Regions from separate parts of the Homo sapiens genome. Here region 1 is linked to region 2. Evidence: promoter capture Hi-C in human tissues and cell types (Jung and others, 2019). All regions are on one chromosome and are shown on one strand. The core of a region is centred on a gene start or on the middle of the fragment in contact, and the rest is flanking DNA. Distances in the headings are between cores, read along the strand shown. Region 1 holds the start of LOC105370556 (a long non-coding RNA gene). Region 2 holds the start of ADAM21 (ADAM metallopeptidase domain 21).

Region 1 (6,689 bases), core at 89-2,588, 76 kb before region 2:
ACTCCTAGTTCTGCAAGCTCCATACATGATGAGTGCCCTAAACAAGTGAACCATTTTATATCTTTTATGCCATATGTTTACTGTTTCTATGTTTAAATATGTTTATATACACAAATACTTACCATTGTATTCCAGTTGCCTATAGTATTCAGTATAGTAGCATGCTGTACAGGTTTGTAGCATAGGAACAATAGGCTATCCAATATAGCCCAGGTGTATAGTAGGCTATACCATTCTAGGTTTGTAGAAGTACACTCTATGATGTTTGCACAATGACGAAATCACCTAACAACACATTTCTCAGAATTTGTCTCCATTGTTAAGTGATAAATGAGTGTATTTGTGAATTTTTCAGATTTCATTACATTATTGATAGCTAGTCTCATTCTATTGTGGTCAGAAAGATGCTTGGGGTGATTTCAATCTTAAATTTGTTAAGACTTGTTTTATGACCTAATATGTGAACTATCCTGGAGAATATTTTGTGTGCCCTTGAGAAGAATGTGTGTTCTGATGTGTTGGGTAGAATGTTCTGTGTGTGTTTGTTAGGTCCATATGGTCTATAGTATGGTTCAAGTCAGTTTCTTAAATTGATTTTCTGTCTGGATGTTCTATCCATTATTGAAAATAGGGTATCAAAATATCTTACTATTATTGTGTTGCTATCTATTTCTCCCTTAAATTATGTCAATGTTTGCTTCATACATTTGGGTTCTCCAATGTTGGGTGCATATATTTCTAATTGTTATATCTTCCTGATAAATTGAGCCCTTTTATCATTATATAGTCTCATCTTTTGTCTCTTGTAACAGTTTGTTTTGCTTTTAGATGCATATGAAATTATTTTTACTACAAACAAGATGTAGTCAAACCTGCTTTAGGAAGCTTCAGTCATTGTCTAACACAGATGTTCCAGGTGATTGCCCATTCTGTCAGACTCAAGGAGGTTCTCTCTTTTCATGTGGCCATCTATCAGCCTGTTTATAGTTTTCTCTTCTTGATAGCATCATCTACTGTGTCCTTGTCAAAACCTTTCCAGGTTTGGGTTTGTGTATTTTCCCAAGCCTCTCATTTCTTGGACAATTTCTTTCATCATTGTCAGTCAAATCTGGCATGGTCAGATTATCTCCACTAAGCTCTGGAATGAGGAAACCTTTTTGTTTAACACATCCTAAGAAGGATTCTCCAATTCTACCTGGACATATGGAACAGTTCAACCCCCTATACATTAGGGGAAACCTATGTATCCAGTGATTAATATAATCATGAAAAGAAATAAAGTATCCAGTTATTAATACAATCATGAAAAGAAAATGAAAAGGACTTTCTTAGAAGATGGACCTAAGTGATCCTTATCTATTCACTTTCTGATCCATTTCCTCACAACCATATCTAAAAAAGAAGATAGTAGATGGCAAAGATATAAAATTGTCTCCCAATTGTTGTTCCAAACTCCCCCGCCCACTGCGAGTGCATCATCATTCAGTTGCTTTTAATATTGTATTGAACTTCACATTCACCTTTGTTTTATGCAGGTTTAACATAATTATATTAAGGATACTAAGCTTTCTTTAGCCAAAAGTATGAACATTTTATATCAATAACAATATTTCTGCTATATTTTTCTACCAAATTATAGTTTAACTGGTGATGTGGTAGAACCACACATAAAAAAGCAGACCATATACATAAATATTTCAAACACAGGATATGATGCTTATTCAGAAGTTTACAGAATATTAATGATGCAAAGCAGAAGTTGAATTTAATCTAAACATTGAAGGATACTATAATGTGGTTCAAGAATGAGGAAAGGTTTAGATGATTTAGATAAGGGTAGGGCATGAACAAAGTTCCTAAAGCAGAAGTGAGCATATGCTGTGTGTGGAGCTCATAAGATGGGGTTGAAGAGGCTGACCTGACACTTGCATGTAGGGGAGGGATAGAAAAAGAAAACTGGATAGAGGTGGTGGAGGCAGAGTCAATTGACTTTAAGAGCCACATGGTGTGATCTGTAACTGAGAGGACCTTGTTGCTGAGCAGCGAGATTAAGAACTTAATCCTCTGTGAGATCTACAGAGATTTGTTTACTTTTGACATGTGAGATGTCAGTTCTTATATTTGTTTTTTGAGGGGGCAATACAGACCACTGATGAGCGTGGCCATTAAAAGAACTATGGGCATAATTGTTCAGTTTGCTGGTAAGTGATTCTTGTCCATTAAAGAGAGAAAGTTCTAGTGGCAAGGTGGTAGCCATGGGAGTATGTGAGAATAAAGGAAGATAAATATTTTAAGGTTAGTAGAGATTTGAGTATGTTCATGTACTGGAAATAAAGAGAAAGTAATGAAGGAAAAGTTGAGGATAAATCTGACAGTTGAGTCAATCTTCAAGTAGGTAAGGCTATAGGATTCATAGCACAGATAGAGGGGCTATGAGCTGGAACTGGAGGAAGATACATCTTTCACTGAAATTGAATCCAAGATCCCAGGGAGAGATAAGAATGACTGTAGTTTCAGATAGGATTTTATTTTCAGCAAAGAAAGAGGGACAGAGTTTTCCCCAAAATCTTTCATTTTCATTATTTGGCTACTGCTCTTCCAGTGGATTTTGACTGTGACCCACAATAAGAAATTTAGCTTAGTTTACATTGAGACTCAGTGAGCATGGGAGTGTGCAGATACAAACACAGACACAGAAAATTAAATATAAACTCTGGTTACAGTGTTTGAAGGTCTTGCTAAGGATCTGTGTAAAACCCTCTGATATTTTCAACACAATTGTGTTTCCTTTGGTTGTGGCCCACTACATTGATTTACAGTTTGTGACCTGAGTTTGAGAAACACAAAATTAGGCTGTGACTGTGAGTGAGGGGAGAGATCATAAGATAGGGTGTTGATGAGTTTTAAATTGTTACTGGAATTAGAAGAAAGAGTTAATTACTGATGCAGAGGAAGATTCTCACAGTGGTTGAAATCCCAGTAATATTAGAGGAAAGGCCTTCAGAATACACCCGTTCACAAAATTAATGGGAAGGCAATGTTCCTTTAAGACTTGTCTTTGGAGTAATGCATTGATGACAAGGACTGGCCTATCACAGATTCTTTGGAATAAACTTTTGTATTATAACCTCATCATATTTCTGACTATATGTAATATAGGTTTTATCTTCTCTACAAGGCTTTTTCTGTCATGATCCTCTCTCAATTCACCCATTTCCATCTTAATGTTCCAAACTCTATGACACATACCAAGGATATTATGAGGAGAGCTATGGAGAGGAAATCTAAATTGGGATTTCACCTCTATCAGATATACTTTACCTAAGAGGTCTCATCTAGTGATCCTGATTTCCTCTTGTGGCATCCGGTGGCCATCCATTAGTTCTGGACACCCACATGGAGGGATAGAGGTTTTCTTGACATCATAATGCTAAGGAGGTTGCACATGCTCATTTGTGCTCTTAGAATATTGAGGCCACCAGTATGTGTTAACAACGTGTCTCCAAATTTGTTTTAACATTTTGATTTCAAATATGAGCAAATCATTAACAACATTTTTAAGTGAAAGTCAGGAACTGAGCAAAGTTAGCTTTTACTTGAGCCAAAATTTGTTTTCAACAGTAATGAGGTTTTTAAGTCTACTCAAATTGTGGTCTTCTGAACATTAGAATGAATGGACTCTAGGCTTAAGCTCCTCTGTGTAGGCTTTCTTTGGAACATTGAGATTGAAATGTGTAGATCCAGGTAACTCATCAGCCATGTGAAAAGTAGAATCAAATCTGTATTGACATGACCAGGAGGAGCCTCTTATGATAGAGATCATGATGCTAGTTGGCTGTGTGCCCTGTCCCAAAACAGCTGCCTCACTCCCTGTTACCCTATCACATGCCTTCCTTCCTTAGAATGCCCAGGGCTTTTCTGCAGATAAGAATATATTATAAAATTAAAAAGTCTTGATTGGAGGAGGTTTCTCAATACTAGTAAGCCCTTTTAGTGGGGCTTTTTTGACTATCAATTTAGAGCACAATTAGGTATACATAAAATGTCTGGGATAGAAGAGGGGAGATGGAGCAAACTACATGAATAAAGGAACAAAGAATGGTGGATTTTGGATGTGTTGTCCATATACTTATTGAATGTGCAGGTTGCCAGTAGGTTTTTGGTTGGAAGAAAGATTTGTGTCAGAATCCAGTGTCTTTAAAATGAACAATTTTGCTCGGTATGACAGCTCATGCCTGTAATCCCAGTACTTTGGAAGGCTGAGACAAGAAGATCACTTGAGACCAGGAGTTTGAGACCAGCCTGGGTAACATAGTGAGACTCCATCTCTATCCCCCCAAAAAAAATCAAAAAGAAAAATTAGCTGGCTGTTGCAATGCATGCCTGCAGTTCTACTTGGAGGCTAAGGTGGGAGGATCTCGTGAGTCTAGGACTTTGAGGGTGCAATGTGCTGTGATTGTGTCACTGCACTACAGCCTGGGCAACAGAGCAGTACCCCATCTGTAAAATAAGGAAATAATAAAAGAAATACATACATTAAAATAAAATGGAAAATGTCTTGCCATTTTACATATTTTAAGAACAGTATATAATGAATCTTTAGGTATCCATCATGAAAATTTGGTAATAACTCACCTATGTGCAATCTCCCCTATCTGGAAATCTTCTTGGCCATATGTATTAAGAGAATCCTAATGCATTTTATTGCTTCAAATATGGTCCAAATGCAGGAATCACTTTGCCTTTTTTCTCTCTCTCTTTCTCCCTTTCTATCCCACCCACCCCATCCTGGCTCTTTCAGTTTTTATTTTCAGCACTGCAGCTCTGATGGTCCAGCTCCACCAGGACACAGATCCCCAGATCCCTAAAGGTCAGCCATGCACCCTGAACAGCTCAGAGGGAGGAGCCAGACCAGCAGTGCCTCACACCTTGTTCTCTTCTGCTCTAGACAGATGGCTCCATAATGACAGCTTCATAATGGCAGTGGGTGAGCCCCTGGTGCACATCAGGGTCACTCTTCTGCTGCTCTGGTTTGGGATGTTTTTGTCTATTTCTGGCCACTCTCAGGCCAGGCCCTCCCAGTATTTCACTTCTCCAGAAGTGGTGATCCCTTTGAAGGTGATCAGCAGGGGCAGAGGTGCAAAGGCTCCTGGATGGCTCTCCTATAGCCTGCGGTTTGGGGGACAGAGATACATTGTCCACATGAGGGTAAATAAGCTGTTGTTTGCTGCACACCTTCCTGTGTTCACCTACACAGAGCAGCATGCCCTGCTCCAGGATCAGCCCTTCATCCAGGATGACTGCTACTACCATGGTTATGTGGAGGGGGTCCCTGAGTCCTTGGTTGCCCTTAGTACCTGTTCTGGGGGCTTTCTTGGAATGCTACAGATAAATGACCTTGTTTATGAAATCAAGCCAATTAGTGTTTCTGCCACATTTGAACACCTAGTATATAAGATAGACAGTGATGATACACAGTTTCCACCTATGAGATGTGGGTTAACAGAAGAGAAAATAGCACACCAGATGGAGTTGCAATTGTCATATAATTTCACTCTGAAGCAAAGTTCTTTTGTGGGCTGGTGGACCCATCAGCGGTTTGTTGAGCTGGTAGTGGTCGTGGATAATATTAGATATCTTTTCTCTCAAAGTAATGCAACAACAGTGCAGCATGAAGTATTTAACGTTGTCAATATAGTGGATTCCTTCTATCATCCTTTGGAGGTTGATGTAATTTTGACTGGAATTGATATATGGACTGCATCAAATCCACTTCCTACCAGTGGAGACCTAGATAATGTTTTAGAGGACTTTTCTATTTGGAAGAATTATAACCTTAATAATCGACTACAACATGATGTTGCACATCTTTTCATAAAAGACACACAAGGCATGAAGCTTGGTGTTGCCTATGTTAAAGGAATATGCCAGAATCCTTTTAATACTGGAGTTGATGTTTTTGAAGACAACAGGTTGGTCGTTTTTGCAATTACTTTGGGCCACGAGCTTGGTCATAATTTGGGTATGCAACATGACACCCAGTGGTGTGTGTGCGAGCTACAGTGGTGCATAATGCATGCCTATAGAAAGGTGACAACTAAATTTAGCAACTGCAGTTATGCCCAATATTGGGACAGTACTATCAGTAGTGGATTATGTATTCAACCGCCTCCATATCCAGGGAATATATTTAGACTGAAGTACTGTGGGAATCTAGTGGTTGAAGAAGGGGAGGAATGTGACTGTGGAACCATACGGCAGTGTGCAAAAGATCCCTGTTGTCTGTTAAACTGTACTCTACATCCTGGGGCTGCTTGTGCTTTTGGAATATGTTGCAAAGACTGCAAATTTCTGCCATCAGGAACTTTATGTAGACAACAAGTTGGTGAATGTGACCTTCCAGAGTGGTGCAATGGGACATCCCATCAATGCCCAGATGATGTGTATGTGCAGGACGGGATCTCCTGTAATGTGAATGCCTTCTGCTATGAAAAGACGTGTAATAACCATGATATACAATGTAAAGAGATTTTTGGCCAAGATGCAAGGAGTGCATCTCAGAGTTGCTACCAAGAAATCAACACCCAAGGAAACCGTTTCGGTCACTGTGGTATTGTAGGCACAACATATGTAAAATGTTGGACCCCTGATATCATGTGTGGGAGGGTTCAGTGTGAAAATGTGGGAGT
Region 2 (5,980 bases), core at 2,405-4,904:
ATTTGACAATAGTAAATTTAATTATTTATCTCATTACCAATAACAAGCTGTGAAGCTGAATTTTCTTTTCTAAACTATTAATAATACAAAATGAATTTTTATTAAACATACTAGGGAAAGGCAAATGCCTTTCAGTTCTTGCCGTAGAAATTATAACAAAATAATTCTCTTAAGGGAGGTAATTAAATAAGCAATTTAAAAACTATAGGGAAAAGGTATCATAAAAGTGAGTTAGGAAGTTGATTAATGTAATACTGAGGGGATTAAATTTTGTGATGTTTATGGTGTTTTCAACCTTTTAATATTTATAATTTGTTGCAGCTTCTTTCTTATGCTAAATAAATCCTCATTTTCATACTTATTTTCTGCAATTGTAACTTGGTATTATTTTTCTTAAAGTGGGCCCCTCATCTTGTACGTGCATCAGGCCCAAAAACTTAATTTCACCTCTGACTGTGATCAACATATTGATGAAGGTAGGTGCTATTTCTTATAAGAACAAAAAGGAAAAGCACTTAAATCAAGCTAATCTAAGAGGACTTACACAGAAGATATAAAAATGAACATGCCTGACCCAACACCAATCATCTCCTGGATTTTGAATCCATTTCTAATCAATGCTTTCTTTGCCCTGATTCAAGTTTCCTTATATTCTCTTCTTATACCTTCCCTTGTGCTTTCTGGAGTCTTCCTTTAAAGACAAAAGGAGAGAGAGAGAGAACCAACTCCATCCTGTACCTCTTCACAGAAAGCTCCCTACATCTACTTACCGTATTGAACCTGAGCTTTAATAGAATTTACTGCTTGCCTAAAGGCTTCCTCTTGAGAAACTCCATCCTCAGAAGTCACATGCACCACAAGGACCAGAGTTCCTGTTCTCCACAGCCCACAACATGAACACCAAATCATTTATCCTGCAATATCTGACTACACTATTTTTAGATGTCTCTTCAACCACCCTTATCACACTTGGACAAAATTCAAAGGCTCTGGCCTCTGACTGATAAAATTATTCTCCACCAAAATTCCTACCCTCAACTTAAAGTAATATTAGCAAGTATATAGAAAACCCATCTGAAAACAAGACAGGGTTTTTTAAAGTTTTTTTTAACCTCTTCAATTCATCTTCAGTGTAATTCAGCCCACCCACTCATAGTCATAATGTATACCTTGTCAACACACAAAAAATTTCATATATCCTAATCAATTTACCAACAATTTTAGTTCTCCCAGCTCTCCCCCTTACTTCTGCTATACCTGTTTCTCAAACCCAAAGAAAACCCAAATACTTTTCTTTCATCATCCCCCATTTCTCTTAATGTTCTTGTCTTCCAATCCATTCAGCTCTGCTACCAGTTTCATCCCTTCAAGCACTGTATGCCAAAATCTTTGACTCTAGAGAGTCCTAAATGTGACAGAGATTGTCGGGGAATGGGGGGTGGGCAGGAACTGCATTAATTCTTCACATACTTCCTCCACTCCTACATCAAAGCTACTAATGCTGCTCTGAAAAAAAAAAAATCCCAAAACCAATGTGTTTGTGAAAGGCTTAAAAAGAGAATATAGAAATCAAAACTGAAATGGCTTGTCCTGGATCCCCAGCCTAAGGAATAGAGATATAAAATCCAGTAGATATTTCAAAACTTCCTATGCCATATTGCTCTTTTCTTTATTCTCCTGGATATTGCATTTGCACCTCCTCAATCTTCTGAGTTTTCCTCATTTATGTATAGTGCCAGCAGCTGAAAATCCATTCTCATTGTCTCTCAATCACAGTAGAATTAGTTAACCAAGTACCTTTCCTTTCTAATATAAAGTATTTAAGGTTTTTTTCCTTTTCTTGTCCTAGACTGGCTATGTGGATGCTGGAAGATGGGGAAAACTTGTTTCAAGCTGAACATTATCCTTGCCATTAACTTGCTTAAAGAGGCTGGATTCATCTGGGCAGTTTTCACTGCTGCAAGTTAGGCACCTTATTCCACAAGGTGCAAGTAGCATGGAAGAGAAAAGCAAAGTTCATAGGCAAAACTTCCAAGAACAAAGATCTCTGAATTGGGATGAAATTCTAACTGCCAGATTTGCTCTCTATATCTCTCTTGATATGTTTTCTACTTACTATGGAGTGACAGTTGTTGTGGATGGGAGGATTGAAAATGGGAAGAACTAATCAAAGATATAATGTTGTGGAAAGGACTGATAAGCTACACCAACCTGTGTCATATTATTCTTTTTCTTGGAGCTCAGCATGAGAGCAGGCAATAACAGGAGAATAACTTTAAAAAAATCTTTAAAACCAGACTCATTGTCTTCATTCCTAGGACTTACAGAGACCAAAGCTCCTGAAGTACCATCATTCTACCATGGATACTGTGAAGTGGTACCACCGTAAATCCATGTCCTCTAATGTCAGCGGACTATCAGGTGAGCCAACAGCCCTCTTCTGCATGTTTGATAAACTCTTCCTTTCCCCACAGCTATTTCAAATTCATCAAGACCGCTCTCTACCCATCTTCCCTCTTATTCCAATGCCCTAATGCACTGTTTTCCTATCTGTCTGTCACTAATATCTGTCCCATTAGAGTCATGGAAGTAATTCAGCTGGCTATAGCCTGCAGTCTTTTTCCTTGAGGAAATAGAACAGAAATATCAGAAGGCATCCCTAGAAGATCCTTAGCAACCTTGCACACACAGTGCCAAATATGTGGGGTGTAAGTGTGTGTAAAGCCACAATGTCATAATATAAAGTGGATTTCTTTCTCTGGAATATGATACACACACACACACACACACACGCCAAATTCAAAGATAAAATGGTTTCTGGGCCTTTCACCATCTGAATCTGCCTATATCCACCTCTTCTCTACCTTACTACCTCTCTAGTCTCATTAGCCCCTCATGGTTCCAGATCATCTCTCCCACCTACTTGAGGACTGTTTCTATTAATTTTCCCTATTCTCAACTGCATCTTCATCTTCTACTACTTTATCTATTCCTTACTGGCAATTGAGGTGACTACCTCATCCTGATTTTCCCAGGACTGTCCTGGTTTTAAAACTGAAAGTGCTGCACCCAGCAATCCCCTCAGTCTCAACCAAACTGGAATGGTTGGTCACCCTACCTACATCCATGCTCAAGTCACTCATATCTTTAAAAATGAAAACACGCCGGGCGCGGTGGCTCACGCCTGTAATACCAGCACTTTGGGAGGCCGAGGAGGGCGGATCACGAGGTCAGGAGATCGAGACCATCCTGGCTAACATGGTGAAACCCCGTTTCTACTAAAAATACAAAAAAATCAGCCAGGCGTGGTGGCGGGCACCTGCAGTCCCAGCTACTCAGGAGGCTGAGGGAGGAGAATGGTGTGAACCCAGGAGGCAGAGCTTGCAGTCAGCTGAGATCGCGCCACTGCACTCCAGCCTGGGCGACAGAGTGAGACTCCATCTCAAAACAAACAAACAAACAAAAAAAATGAAAACAAAACAAAAATTAAGAGACTTCACATTATCCAGTGGACTACTCTGGATACCAAATTATGCATAGAACCAAACTTTATGAATGACTTACCATCAGAAGAAACAGTAGTTTCCATGGCCATTTCTGTCTAGATGGTTTATACCATGCTTTATCAATGGTTTGTAGCTGAGGCCACAGAACAAAGGGAAACATAAGCCCTCTCCCTTTTGTCTCTCAGGTGACTAAATTCTAGATTTAGCTACTTAGCAACAAGGAACTTTCAATTCTACAGAAATAATAATAGGCTCTGAAGAATATCTTGCTCTCATCCTGCCATTTCTATACTCACTTCCGAATTTAATACAATTGGAATTGGGTTGTCTCCTCACCTCCAGTCTATGTCCCCTGACAGCACAGGTTTGTAATTTTGCTGGTGTCATTGCATTGGTCTAGACTGTCTAATCACTTTTCCCATTGAACTGAATTATAGTAACTTTATAGGGCAAGATCAAATTCCACTTCCATTATCAAATCTTTCCTAAATAATCCAGAAAACATTAACATCCTGTAACTCTCTTTATAACTTTAATATGCAATACATTTTTGTGTGACAAAATTTATATCCTTGCTATTTTCTGTTTCATACGTGAGTTTTAAAAATTGCATCTCCTATTAGACTATAATGTTTTGGAGAAAAGTATGCTCAAAATGATTGGTGGAGAATTTATGGTATAGTGTTTGGTAAAATATATAATCAATAAGATGAGTTCAATTTATAAAAACTACATAGGATAAAGACTAATTTAATAAAATATTAACTCTAACTTTGGGAATTTCTGTTATAGATTTTTGTCAACTCCTAATTTACCTGGTAGAATCAGAGCCTCATGGGATAACCATCAATTAGAAGCAGTTTTAATTACAGACCCCTTCCATTTCCTGCCAGGAAAAGATTCTACTATTTATGCTGGTTTCTTTAGAAATCTGACAAGGTTCCTTTTGATAAACTGTTTTGCTCATACATGCAAAACTGGAGACACCTCTGCCTTAGGAGGGGTAGATACAAAGAGGTTTGTCTTCCGCTGGACTCAGTGGATAACATCTACTTCTATACCAGACATCATTTACAATGAGGTATACATAGCCCCAAAAAATTAGAGTAGAGGAAACCACATACATTCAATCATGGAAAAAGCTTAGTAGCAAGCCAGTAGCACTAGTAAGCAGAGCGAAGAAACTCTACGCAGGGAGAAAGATAATTGAGGAAGAATAGAATGCCTGCTTCAGGCAGAACAAATAGTAACCTGCAAGATCCATAGGTGGGAAAAGAATGAAACCTTCCCAAAGGAGCTTGGCTTGATCTCTCTAGCTGTAAGAAGGAGTAAATTTATTTCTTCTTCTTCTTTTTCTTTTTCTTTTTTTTTTTTGACAGGGTCTCACTCTGTCACCCGGGCTGGAGTGCAGCTGTTTTTTGTTTGTTTGTTTGTTTGTATCTTTTATAGAGATAGGGTTTGTCCATGTTGGTCAGGCTGGTCTCAAACTCCTGGGCTCAAGTGATCTGGCCTCCCAAATTGCTAGGATTACAGGCACCCGGACAACATTTATTTCTTTGTGGAATCAGCACTAAGAACTTCTGGTTCCAGAAAAGATAGAGTAGACACATTTCTTCCTATTATTCCTAGTAAGTATAGTAAGTCCTCAATGTCATGAATAGGTTCTTGGAAACTGCAACTTTAGGTGAAACAATGTACAGTAGGTCCTGAAATAACATTGTTTTGTCCAATGTGTTTCATTATAACACTGATGAGACAAATAAAAATTTGTTTTGTTGTATGTTACTTTGCACTGTTAAAGTCACAGTTTCTGAGAACCTATTGCTGATGTGAGGACTTACTGTGCAAGTAAAAACACTGTATTTTAAATAGAAAACAAACATAAGAAGGTTAAGAAAGGTAGAGAAAATCATGCAGAGAAGGTACCTACCCTGGGATCTAAGGAATAACATGGTGGTGAATCCCTGAGTTTTCTTTTAACCTCAAGCAATCTGGAGAAGCCTATAACATTTTAATGCCAACAGACATAGAACAAAAAGACTCAAGAAGTTTGCTGTCTGTAGCCAAAGGACTCAGAAATGAGCAGTCTGGCGAGACAGAAAACTTTTAGAAAATAACCATCCTTCTCCACCCAAATGTCATGGGAAAACTTGTATCCCCACATGCACTTCATCAGCAAAAGCCACATGGGGAGCTTAAACTTTCAAATCTTCCCAGCTGTAACGTGGCATCCCCTCCCCCACCCCACTCACTGGGGTGGTGTCAGAGAAGGTCAAGTTGAGTTCTGAGACTTTCCTCCTTGTCATGCAGTAAATGAGGCCCTGATATAGTTTGAATGTTTGTTCCCTCAAAATCTAATGTTAAAACATGATCCCCAATGTTACAAGTGAGGTGTGATAGAAGGTGTTTGGCTGGATCCCTCATATATGGCTTGGTGCTGTCCTTGCAGGAATGAGTGAGTTCTTACTCTATGA

The links. Contacts are between HindIII fragments. The study calls those that stand out against the background at their distance.
Region 1: a contact is called between a fragment that was not itself captured here and the fragment with the promoter of ADAM21 in region 2, in 2 of the 25 tissues and cell types used here (H1 embryonic stem cells and hippocampus).

What each region holds. Positions count from the first base shown.
Region 1 is chr14:70,523,046-70,529,734 of GRCh38, reverse strand. It overlaps ADAM20 (ADAM metallopeptidase domain 20), which reads left to right. Exons shown (of 2, transcript NM_003814.5): 2 at 4,802-6,689. The coding sequence starts at 4,978. LOC105370556 (a long non-coding RNA gene) reads right to left here and starts at 3,389. Exons shown (of 3, transcript XR_007064239.1): 1 at 3,322-3,389. The HindIII fragment of the contact is 4,789 bases long and covers 1-3,732 here.
Region 2 is chr14:70,449,848-70,455,827 of GRCh38, reverse strand. ADAM21 (ADAM metallopeptidase domain 21) reads right to left here and starts at 3,654. Exons shown (of 2, transcript NM_003813.4): 1 at 3,565-3,654. The HindIII fragment of the contact is 8,309 bases long and covers 1-5,444 here.